Linked DNA regions of Homo sapiens: region 1 is linked to region 2. Evidence: promoter capture Hi-C in 16 types of primary human blood cells and fetal thymus (Javierre and others, 2016). All regions are on one chromosome and are shown on one strand. Each heading gives the region's core, a stretch centred on a gene start or on the middle of the fragment in contact. The rest is flanking DNA. Distances are from core to core; before and after follow the strand shown. Region 1 overlaps GALC (galactosylceramidase). Region 2 holds the start of SEL1L (SEL1L adaptor subunit of SYVN1 ubiquitin ligase).

The links. Contacts are between HindIII fragments. The CHiCAGO score rates a contact against its expected background, and 5 or more counts as called.
Region 1: a contact is called between a fragment that was not itself captured here and the fragment with the promoter of SEL1L in region 2, in 1 of 17 cell types (total CD4 T cells). The highest score is 5.4, in total CD4 T cells.

What each region holds. Positions count from the first base shown.
Region 1 is chr14:87,982,419-87,988,494 of GRCh38, forward strand. It overlaps GALC (galactosylceramidase), which reads right to left. Exons shown (of 17, transcript NM_000153.4): 2 at 6,037-6,076; 3 at 5,726-5,789; 4 at 4,071-4,184; 5 at 1,976-2,115. Among named protein-coding and RNA genes, the nearest start is that of GALC, 7.7 kb to the right of the region's middle. The HindIII fragment of the contact is 2,015 bases long and covers 3,820-5,834 here.
Region 2 is chr14:81,529,286-81,536,192 of GRCh38, forward strand. It overlaps SEL1L (SEL1L adaptor subunit of SYVN1 ubiquitin ligase), which reads right to left and starts at 4,568. Exons shown (of 21, transcript NM_005065.6): 1 at 4,390-4,568. The coding sequence starts at 4,459. RefSeq lists an enhancer at 4,356-4,855 and a silencer at 4,572-4,691. The HindIII fragment of the contact is 11,079 bases long and covers 1,078-6,907 here.

The sequences.
Region 1 (6,076 bases), core at 3,577-6,076, 6.5 Mb after region 2:
TTTAAAAATTAAAATATTATTTTTAAAAACCTTAAAATATTTAGTGGGTATTTTTCAAAAAGTAATTTATTCCAAAGATTTTCAACAATGGAATATTCATTAATTCATTCAACACATACTGACAGTACAATGTGTGCCAGAAACTATACTAGGCATTGGAGAACTAATAGACAGGGAAACTGTTACAACAATTATGACAAGATCCCTGAAAGCCAAGTATTAATATGTATACTGTATAGAAGGCATATTTTTAAGCATACACAGAGAATCACAGTAATACACTAGTCACAAAAGCAACTCTGAATGAGGATGGATAAAAGGAACATATATACATCTATTAGGTTTAGAGTCATGAAGCATGGGGTTTTAGAATTGAAAGAACTTCCATAACTCCACAGTTGAGAAAACTGTTAATAACAAGAGACGATTCTAGAATCCAGGTGCAGGTCTTTTTACTCCAATGATACAGGAAAGAGTTTATCAATGAACCTCCTCATCATAGCATTTGTTATCATGAGTCTAAACAAGATGTGAATCACCCATTACTTGTGACTGTACCATAAGAGAAAGCTATTAGACCAAACCTACATTTAGTCTCACTACAGGTTATAAATGTCCTGACATTTAAGAAAGTTCTCCGGCCAGGCGTGGTGGCTCATTCCTGTAATCCCAGCACTTTGGGAGGCCGAGGCGGGCGGATCACGAGGTCAGGAGTTTGAGACCAGCCTGGCCAACATAGTGAAACCCCGTCTCTAATAAAAAGAAAAAAAAACTAGCTGGGTGTGGTGGCGGGTGCCTGTAATCCCAGCTACTTGAGGCAGGAGAATCACTTGAACCCAGGAGGCAGAGGTTGCAGTGAGCCAAGATCACAACACTGCACTCCAATCCGGGTGACAGTGTAAAAAAAAAAGGAAAGTTCTCAAATATAAACTAATTTTTCAGTCATAATTTGGAAAAGGATAGCAAAAACTAGTATATTCTTTCTTCTGACTTCCTCCAGCCCTTGGCTCATCCTCATGCCCTGTATCATCATGTAGTATTACAGTTTATATGTTCCAGCATCTACTTCTCTTACTGAACACAAGAGCTTATTAATCTTAGTAGCCCTCAAATATTACAGTCACAGTTCCTGCAACACAGTAGGAACTCAATAATTGTTTGCTGATAATCTAAGTCATGATTGCATGAAAATGTTTAAGTATTAGTTTTAACTGATGGTATATTAATAAGCAAATGATTATGGAGACCCACTATGTGTGTGTTAAGGCCCTGTGGGGTACGATGCAGCCTGGGGCATGCCTCCACCCAGCCAAGAGACAAGCTGGACATGATATCATTTTTCATACTTTTCAAATCCTTAAAAGGTGTTAACTAACAGTTTGTGACAGGTGAACGCAGATTTCAGCCAGCCTGCCAAATCTGGCCCATCATCTGTAATTTTACAACTTGAGAGCTAAAAGTGTTTTTAGTTTTAAATAGTTACATTTTAAATGGCTATATATTTACCTCAAGATCCTCAATATTGCCTTTTGGCCCACAAACCCAAAACTATTTATGCTCTGGCCCTTTAATAAAAAGTTTGCCAATCTTTGGCTTAAGACAACAAGAGGATAAAATGAGACTAACCCCCCATAAGCTGTATAGGAAACACAACACTGTTGTAGGAACCAGAGAAAGCAGGGAAAGCTTTGAAGGAGAATTTGAGTTGGGTTGATACAAAAAAAAAAAAAAAAAACCCAGCTCAGAGGAAGGAGGTATACACTCAACACAGTTTTCAAAAGTGGGAACACTGGGATGGGCAAAGGGGAGCAATTAAAGGTCACAGGTACTTAGTTTGTGTTATTATCAGACACCATTAGAACAAATTAGCCTCATGGCATAAAATGGTTAGTCAAAAAGTACCACAGAATCAAATTATTTTCTAAATTACAAACAAATGTCCAAAACTGAATCATATTTTAAATATATTACTAACTCCAATATAATCAATGTCCAAATCATGGTAACGCTTGGCGCCCACAATCCAGGTCACGACATAATAGGCAGTCAGCTGAAGATTGACATAAGGCCAGTCGAAACCTTTTCCCAGCCATCCAGGGAATGACCATGGCAACCCTGCAGAGAGAAGGGAGGAGGCAAAGGTAGAGGAGGTATAACGGTGCTGGCGCTATTGAAAATAAAACAAATTTTTTTTAAGAAAAGCATTCAACTAGCAAAAAACCAATACAGATCTGACTAAAGGAAAGTTTATATACCATATAAAAATTATTGAAATCCTTTCCAATCTATAGACACTATAATTCCTTATTGATCCCTAGAGTCAGGTCCCATAATTTCAAATGTTCTTTCCAAGAAGAAGAAAAATAACAAATACAAACACCTCTCTCCAAGACCCTTACCAATAGAAAGAAATGTACCATATGTTTTAACTTAACATGTCCACTCACTGTTGGAATGTTCAATATTCAACTTCTGTTCTTTGAGGTCAAATCAAAGAATTCTAAAAGGCTTATGCCAAACTACTCTTGAGTTATGTATAACACAAATTTATCATTCAATTGTACATCTTCTTACAATTTAGGGTCCTTAAAATATTAATCAGTCAGGCAATCTAATTTAGCAAAACTAGTTTGTTCTTATATCACTATAAATGACAATGACTCCATAGAGAAATATACCCTTGTTAAGTGATACACATCAAATAAGTCCATATTCTTCCAATAATCCTGATTATGTTTAAGTAAAAAAATAAGAAGAGTAGAAAAGTACTTATTATAATTCTAAATTTAACTTGCTACTAATATATTAAAATAGGCTCAATAGTTAAGTTCCTCAGCAATAAATATATTACCAAACTAGTTCACCACTGAAAAAAATAAAAATCAAAATGACAAAATGCTTATTTTCTAAACTCAGGAGGAACACCCAAGTGTATTACATAAGAAATGTGACATTAAAGTAATAGAATTCTTGAAAACAATGAAATGCTAAATGCAATCTGAAGGCCTACCAAGTCTTTGTTAGGACATGGTTTAGCATGCCATATTTTCTACATTTAAATGAGGTCTGACCTTGGAAGCAGTCTAGTGGATATGTGCTGAATTCAGTGATGCTTTTACTGCTCACAGCATTTCTGGAATCTCTTACAAAAGCCCATTTATAAAGAACATACTTACTCCTAATTTCTTTTAACTTAGAAAATATTACTTTTCATTAACCTGATTGTTGAGAAAATTATTTTTTAAATAACTAGAAATCAGGTCTTTAAAATGAATCATTAATTTCATTTAACTTAGTTTGAATTTAAGCCTGTTTCAAAAAATCAAATTCATTTCAAATGATGAAAGTATCCCATCACTCTTGATGTTTGAAATACTTCACAAGCTCTGTACACATTCTCACAGAACTGTGAAATGTACATAGTCCCATTTAAGCAACTAGCCAATGATCCTCCCAATAGAACCTAAGCCCCACAGGTGCAGGAATTGGGGACGGGATTGGCTTCCTGAGTCCCAGAACAGTAACCAGCACATTATTGAAGTTCAAAAACTAACTAATAAACAAAAAACACTTTTGTATGTACCTTTTCTAAAAATAGGGTTCACTACTACATGCAATATACAATTTTGTAACTAGTTAGGTGTACTACTGCATGTAATATACATTTTTGTGAACAGTGTTACCCTTTTATAAATACTGATGACAGATCTTGTGAAGGAAAGTAGTTTAGCATCATAGGAAACATGGAATTAGGTGCTAACACCGATTTTGCCATTTACTAACTGTCTATGACCTTAGGTCAGTGGCATAATCTTCCTAAGCTTCTACTGCTTCTTCCTGGAAAATGGAAAGAGTCATGCCTTACTCCACAGGTATTATAAGGATTCAACATAATATACAAGGGCAAAGAAAGGATCACCCCTGGCACATGCTTTGCTGCTGGTAGCATACTGGTAGCATTAATGACATTATGAGTACTTCCGTATTAATAGAGATTCCACCAACACGATTCAGAATTTAAAAGTTAAAGGAAAAGAGACTGAAGAAACATTGCAAACTTCATTTCTTACCAATGAGTGTAATATTGGGATTCCTCTTCTTAGCTTCTTTCATCAACCACCACTCGTATCCTCGGAAATAATTCTCATCTAGTGCATAATGCATGTGGGAGGGCTCAGTGCCGTCTGAATAGAGGAGAGCAAAAACGGAAGTAATGATCCATGAATGGTACTTCCTAGGACCATCTCACTCCCCACCCCCACCCCAGACACACACTTCACAAAAGCAGTATTCCAGTTCTAATCCTGAAGTTGGGGAAATCATAATCTTACACAACTAAAGGATGGATGATAAAAGCATATCATTTCATCCTTTTTTTATTATCTTAAGCATTGTAAAAGTCTTAATAAAACCACAACCTTCTATTACAAGCAGTACTGAGAGAAATGTTATCACCTCATATAACTAAAAATTCCCAGTATTCATGCTTCTGGGCTTTTGATCTCTCTGTAGTTTTCAAATCCCCATGTCCAACTTTAAGTTCTGATTACCTCAACTTTCAGCTTTTCAACGCTGGATATGAATCCCTGGACTCGTGAGCCCTGTTCTCAGAACCCACACCTTTAGCCTATAATATGTCTTGATATAGGAAGAGTTTTGAGGAAAAAAAAAGGAATGAGTATACATATCCACTCTAAAAATAACAAAATTCTATACTAACATCTGCAGTTAGTAGAGGTTACATTGTCTTAGCACTGAGGTAGGTAATTGCTATCAAAGTCCTCGTATATTCCCACAGTTCACCAACATCTGCCCTTGCTAAGTAGGGCCTTCCGAGAGGCCCTTGCCCATTTCTTCTTAAAGGTAAACATCAGAATTCACAAGAACTGCCTGTTTATGTACCTCTACCTCTAATTTAGCTTCAGCAAGTGAAATTAGTCCATCATTGTCAATTCTGCCTAAAAGGTTTTAACAGTAAAACGCAATAGCTTGAAGAAAGTTTCTGTTATGGGGGTTTCTTTTGTTTTTGCTTTGCACTTTTTCTTCAACATAAACACTAATACCACCACATAGACATATCTGTTCAACAAAGAGTTACTTCCAAATCACTAGCAGGAATACAAGTAATACTCTAGAGTTCATTATAATGGAATCTGTTCTGTAAATAATAAGCTATATCTAATCATAGAGAGAATTTCTTTTCTTCTTCCTGGAAACAAAAGGCCTATAAACTGCCAGTTGATAACATGGACTACATAAAGCCAATCAAAATAGTGACAATGAAGACTGAAGATTTAGTGATTAAAGATAAGTTTTGTTTTTAAAAGAAAAAAAAGCTGTATCATTTTTACCACATATTTTAAGTTAATAACACTTTTTTTGTTCTATACGAAATTAAAATCTTTCTAACTGCTCAATAAAATTCAAAACTGTCCCTATGCTCTGTCCTGTATATATAGGTTTTAGAAAACTGTGGATTTGTTTACTACCGATTACTTCAACTAAATAAGCAATTTGAAGTTTGAATATTGTTTTTGATGGACCAGTCATATTCTATATAATATTTTTAAATAATTACAGTTAAAAAATGAGGAAAACTCTAATAAGCAACAATCAATCTCAAAAGTGTTGGTATTGTTTACACATATTCTGAAATCACAGTCCATATGCTGAGGTATAGATTAAAATGTTGATGGGAGAAATCCTATCTCCCAAATTCTCCTACCTGTTGTCTGCCCATCACCACCTATTTCCACTTTTAAAATATGCAAAGAGGCACCAAAATTCGGCTGTGAAAAGAAGTAACAGTATTAACATAGTGTTGTATTGTATGAAGCTTCAAGACAATTACTAATTACTGCCTTAGGTTTTACAGACGCAAAAACAAAAGCAAAACTTCAAATAGCAATTTATTCCAAAAGTAATGTGCCATTTTTTCAAAAACTAGAATTGTGAGGCTAATAAATTCTATGGTGAAATTCACCATCCAATTTCTAAAATATCACAGGTACCATGAAATAATTATGTTTTCATTACCTTAAAGAGATAATCCAATATCTGAGAACGATAGGGCTCT
Region 2 (6,907 bases), core at 3,318-5,817:
TCTATAATATATCAAAGTTGTACTGTAAGTATATGTAATTAATCACAAACTTCAACTAGTTAATATATCAAAACAGATATTAAATGTTTAAACATATATGAAATACCCCCAAATACTGAATGAAACTTTAGATTAGCTGGAACTCTAAATCACTATCACTACATTGCTACATTTAGTACCTCACCACAACAGGTTACATAGGTAGCTAACAGGTGAATCATATGGACACATCTGTAAATACACTTAAAGACATGTACATTTCACACAGCACAAGCTGTTAGGCATTAGAGTAGCAAAACGTGTTTTCAAACTCCAAGAAACATGATTTGTAACATCAGAGTTATTTCATGTGAATTGCATCATGCTTCTCTTTCTCTCCCTCTCTCTTCGCAACCTGGACTATATGCTAATATTACTGGTGAATAAGATAATTCTCAGTTACTAAACTGGGAAAGCCTACTCCAGATGGTAGTCTCAAAGCATAAGCTATTTTCTTTTTCAAACTGATATAAACATTCACACAACACTTTTTAAAGAGTTGTTTATAACCTAGGAACTTCTGATAAGTAGTATTCAGGTAAGGATTAAAGAGACTGAAGTTATGCATAAATAAAAAGCAAACAGTAATGTTTTCATCAGAACACAGATATCAAGCAACAAGAAAAAAATGCAAAAGGATTAAGTTATGCGCTTCTCGCTCATCAGCATCACATCCAAATGGTTCATATTATTTTATTAACTGTACACCTTCCTTTGAAAAGGACCAGTTTTTATTTTTATTGTATTAGCTAACAAAACTGCAAAGTACCAGAGATATGCTTTCAGGGAAAAGTGATCACTACAAAATCATTTTTCCATTCATCACGTAAATTAAACAGACTGATAACCTTTAAACACAGAAAGTCTAAATAGTTTGGTGAAAACAGACCAGATATCCTGTTCTCTGCTTTAGCTCTAAATTGGTACAGATCCTAAGATACTCTCGATTCTAAATTTCTTCAATTCTGAGACCTGGAGAGCTAGGTCTGGAACCTGGCTTCATCACATGTTAATTCTGACACATGGTTCAGTAACAAAAGCTTGCTCAGCCTCTGTTTCTCAATCTGTCAAAAGGGGTAACACCTCTGTCCCGCTGACTCACAATATTTTAAGGAACGACCAAAACAGTGAAATTAAACATCCTCTGCTGTCTGAAAACTACTCTCTGAATTTATAATTATTACCTGAAATACCTGGCAGTGGACCTAACTAAAATGACTAACACTGCTTGGCACAAAGAAAAAAAAAGGTTAAGCCATTTGCCTCTTCTGCCAAAAATAAGAAAGCATGCATTTGTGAGAAAAATTATAACCTTTTCACTATTATCCTGAGAAAATGAAGAAATATCTTTTTAGTGTCCTCCTTTAAATTTATTAATAGAAAAGAGAAAATGTTTCTAATATTAGCCATGTGTCAATGACGAGGATATGTTCTGAAAAGTGTATCACTGGGCGATTTCCTTTTTGTATACTTAAACCTAAATGGGATAGCCTTCTACATACCTGGGCTACATAGTGTAGCCTGTTGTTCCTAAGCTACAAATCTGTACAGCATGTGACTATACAGACTACTGTAGGCAACTGTAACATAACAGTAAGTATTTGTGTACATAAACATAGCTAAACATAGAAAAGCTACAGTGAAAATATGGTGTAAAAGATTACAAAACATATACCTGTCTAGGGCACTTACCATAAATGGAACTTGCAGGATTAAGAGTTGCTGTGGGTGAGTGAGTGAGTGAATGTGAAGCCTAGGATGTTACTATACACTATTGTAAACACTGTACACTTAAACTACACTAAATTTATTTTTTAAAAAGTGTGCTACCATGTTCCAATGGCTACAATGTCACTAGGTGACAGGAATTTTTCAGCTCCATTATATTCTTACAGGGCCACCATCTTACATGGGGTTCATTGTTGACCAAAATGTCATTATGTAGCATGTGACTATATCATATTTTTACATGCTTCTAAAACATGATACTAGCTAACAGCTATCAACAGCAATAGAATCAAGATTCTCTTTGTTGGCTGACCATACTCCACCTGGAGAGATGCGACCTGCCCTGGGTAACCACTAATGTTCAAACACAAAATTATAACCAAAAACTTGATTTTAATACTGGAGTAAAACTTTAAACTTTGAGGCCGAAACCCTGTGAATGAAAATCACAATTGAAAATCCATAGCTTAATTTACACAACTTTATTTAACACAGGGTTGTTTTTTTTTCTTTTTTTTTGAGACAGGGTCTCGCTCTATTGTCCAGGCTGGAGTGCAGTGGCATAATCACAGCTCAGTGCAGCCTCAACCTCCTGGGGCTCACTCCATCCTGCCACCTCAGCCTCCCGAGTAGCTGGAACTACACGTGTGCACCATCACACCTGGAGTTACGTAGAGATGGGGTTTCGCCATGTTGCCCAGGTTGGTCTTGAACTCCTGGGCTCAAGTGATCCTTCCACTTCAGCCTCCCAAAGTGCTGGGATTACAGGTATGAGCTGGGCCCGCACAGGTGTTTTATGATATATGAACTTCATGTGAGCACAGCACTGCCTTTATTACCTTTTAGCATGCACATCTACATTGTTTTAGTTCTGGCTAAGGCTTCTGCCTTTACCATTGAAATGTTGTGGCACAGCTTTAACTATGATGGAAATCAGAGCAGACATTTCTTGAATACAGTCCTCTACCTACATCAATACAACCCAAGGATTTAATATATCAGTGTTAAGTCTTTTATTACAACATCCTGAAAGCCCCAACTGTTGATCTTCAAATATCTTTTCCACTGGCATGGAGCTCTAAGTATATAAAATGCAGTCAAAGACAGACAGCACAATTCCTATGCTTTAATTTTCTTTAAACTCTGCCAATTAAATTCAGAGGGATACACACCGTGCTCTTTCATTACTGTAGTTCTCTTTAGTGTGAAGAATCCCTCATGGAGATTGTTAATCTATGTATACCTGAGCTGTTCCAGACCTAAAACCCAATGTTTAACAAACCCATAAGAGGAATTCTGATGCAGGAGGTCCATGGTCCAGCAGGTACTCTACTCATTAAGCTCAACAGCTTCATTTCATGCTTTTTGATCAAATATTAAATAACTGCTAAAAGTGCTTCGAGAGTTAAGTATAGTCTAAAGATCTGGTCATTAACTCAAACCATCACTACTACTGGAGGGAGGGGAGTGGACCTGAAAGAATGATGTTGGCAGTAAAGTAATTAGCATAGGGTTGGTGCTTTTGAAATGGTATCTCAAACCACATCATGGATAGAATTTAGGTTTAAGCCTCTTATTTTAGAAGCAGAATGACGTTATGGCATTGATTTACAACTAGGACAGGTAATTTGGGGATTCAGATAACCATCTGGGAAATTTTCTGTTAAAAAAAAGCTGACATTTATTAAAAAAAGAAAAAGCTGACATTTATACTCCGTGTTGTCCCCCCAAAACGTCAAGCCACAGAACACCTGTCCTGTTAACTGAAACTGATTAAAATTCCAAAGTTTTACTGTACTAATTTTTATTTATCAACACTTAGAAACACGAAGTTTTCATGAACACTCTCAAAATGGAAATTTTCAAATGTAGGCAGATTAAAACATTAAAAAAGGGGGAAAAAAGCAGAACCAGAATAAACATTAGCTAACTGGAAAATCAATTCAAAAGCACACAAATTTCTGTATCTATATAAAACGCATCTTATAAGAACCAAGATTTTCCCAAACATCATAAAATGACTGTCAACAAACATGGGGCAACTCAGAAACACTGTGACAGGTCACCGCTTTCTCAGGAAGGTTTCAAAAAAGTAAAAAGTGGCTACGATGAGATCAAAAGTCTTCGTTTTTAAACAGACAGACCAGGGACCATCTCAGGTGTTAAGCAAACTACTGTCAACATCCTGGTCTGGATGGATCCTCCTCTGCCCCAAAGTGACAGCTCCAGGTTTGTCAATTATTTAACTTACAATTCCCAAGCCCAGAGTTCTAGACCAGACCCTTCCTCTACCCCAGGGTCGAGGAAGCTCCACTCGGGCTCCTGTATCAGGATTCATTCCTTTGGAGTCAATTCCGCGTTCGTGAGAAGAGTCGCGCAAAGTTTGTTACGTGGGAGAGAGGTGTGGGCAGGGTGACCGCCCCTTCTTTTTCCACCCCACTCCACCTTCCTAAATAGCCCCTTTGGCGCAGGCCAAGCAAAGCCAAAGAGCGAGTGACAGCCCAGTGCGAGATGTGCCCAGGGAGAACGGGGTCCCGAGCCTGGAGTCCCCACGGCCCCGCCGGCTGTAGAGGCTGGGGGGCGGAGGCTCTGGGCCTTCAGCCCGAGGGGGCGGATACTGACCCGAGGACGCCGAGGCCAAGCTCAGCAGCACCGCACACAGCAGCAGCGTCAGCCCTATCCGGACCCGCATCCTCCTCTCGGGGCCGGTGCCAACCCCTAGAGCTGTCGCCTTCGCCTCTGCCACCACGGACTCAGCCACCACCGCCGCCTCGCCGCTGCTCTTCCTGCTCTAGTCTCCTTCCTCCGCCCCTTCCCAGGCTTCCCTGACCCAGCGCGCAGCCAATCCCCGCCCGCCGTCGCGGGCTTCTGGTCCAATCACCATGGTCTCCCCGCCCACCCCCATTGCTCCGCCCCGGGGGTCATTCATTGGCCAATCATTGTACGAAGCTCCCACACCAGCTTTCTCGGTTGGACCACGACTCACGGACATGGCCCCAGCTAATTGGTAGCCCCTGGGTTCAACCGGAATCAGCGCGTGAGTCCAAGACTGGGAGAAAGAGGCTCATCCGAGACTACAATTCCCAGAATGCGCTTCATGTGATTAACTCGGGGGGTGCTCTTGGGAAACGTAGTCCATCGTAGGGCAAGATTTACAAGTGCGGGTGACTGTTGAAGTTAGAATTTAACTAACACCTGGGCTAAATATTAACTCAAGGCTATGGATTCACAAGCCTTTTTAAATTGACCCAAAATAAATATTAAGGAATAATTTTAAGAACTTGTAATGTGTTTAGCATCTTTTCCTGTTTTATTTAAAAAATTTAAATTGGGCATAGTGATAAGAGCACTGAGAAAAATGCCACAGCTAGTTGAATTTGAGGTGTTTTTTAAAACTTAGATAAAACAGTACCGTGAAGTACGGAAACCAGGGTGCAACTCAGTACCTGTCCTCCTTTCTCCGACAAAACAAAAGGAAATAAATCCGCTCGGCACAGATTATCTCAATACAGTATTTATTTTCACTAGGTTCACCAGACAATAATCATAAAGAAAATGTGCCAACAGCTTTGAAAAATTATTTTAAACACTTGTCCTCATCCTTCTCCTCTTGTGAGTTGCATTGTTCTCTTCTTTCCTAACTAAAGTCAGGAGACCAGGTTCACGTGTGTGGAGGTAGAGGTGATAGTGATTGCATCGCAGGCACGGAAATACTCTATGTAATAAGCACGAAATCCAGGCATGTTCCAACTGAGTAGCAGAGCAGTGACTTGGTGTGCCTGCCCTTTCTTTTCTCAAACCGTGTCATTCTGCTTTCCCTGTCATCCACCCACAGTCAGCTCTAAGGCCTAGAACCTAGTCCAGCCAAGTGAAGGACTTTGGAAAAGTCTCTGCTGGCCATGTGTCTTAACACTTCTGGGCATTTGTCTTCCTTCCTTTTTTTTTTTGTTTTTTGTTTTTTGTTTTTTGAGATACAGCCTTTTATTTTCAGGAAGATGGTAAAAAACCAACCACTGTTTCTCATTCACATCGGAGGAGATGAAGGAAAGAATTATCTCCTCCAAAAACTTGTCTTTTCAGCTACATCACCATTTCTGTCACTAACAATGTTCCCTCTGAGTTCCTCTGATTATAAATCATAGAGTAAAATCTGGTATATTTTCCTTTCTTTTTCATCTTATTGATAATCAAGTTCTATCAGTTTAAACTATGTAACTTTTAAATTGTTTTATTTTATTATGTACCTCTGTTCTCTTCCTCACTGAAAACTCCCCTAATGGCTTTCATTTTCTCTCACCTGGATGATGCACCTGAGTTCCAGCCATACTCACTGACATCATTCTCCCTTTAACCTGAATCACATATCATGGCCATATTAATTTTCCTTAAACACTGCTTTCATATGCCTATTGAAAATTTTCAATGGCTACACTTTTCACAGAATAAAAAAAATTAGAACTTATTCTACTCACAAAATAGGAACTGTGCTGACAGTTCTACTCTGTTGGGGAAGTACCAGGGAAGAAACTTCTGCCTTCTACAGAAGAGCCAGTGATTATCTGTTTGATTAAAACTGGGGAAAGTTTGCTGCTTAGTTAAGCCCCAACTTCTTTTTTCAGTTTTGTCTTTACTGAGTACGTCTTATATTTAAGGGTTGTTCTGGGTGCTGCTGCATGGACCAAATAGCCACTTCCGTTTTACTTTCCAGATTTCACATTAACACAATCATGTCTTCCTAAGGGTTCCTCTACCCTTTCTCCAACTGCCCTTGCTTCTTTCACTTAGCCATAACTCTGGCATCCTTCCCAATTTCATTCACATTTCGTCTTGGATCACACTTCTCCAACCAGATCTGTCCTCATTAATCTTCATTTCTCTAAGAATCTATTGAACACTCACAATCTTGCCTTATAAACAGATTGTAAACATGCTGAGGCTGGAGATGATCATGTGATTCTGTGTATAGGTATATAGTGCTGGACTTGCCACCACTAGCACTAGTTAATTATTTATTGGTTGATAGATATGTCTTGCCTGTCTGTTGTGAGATTCAAAATGGAGACACAGGATAAAAGCACTTTCTACATTGTAGGATGTTTTACATATAGTATTGTTTCTTATTGATTGCTTGGTTGAGGCG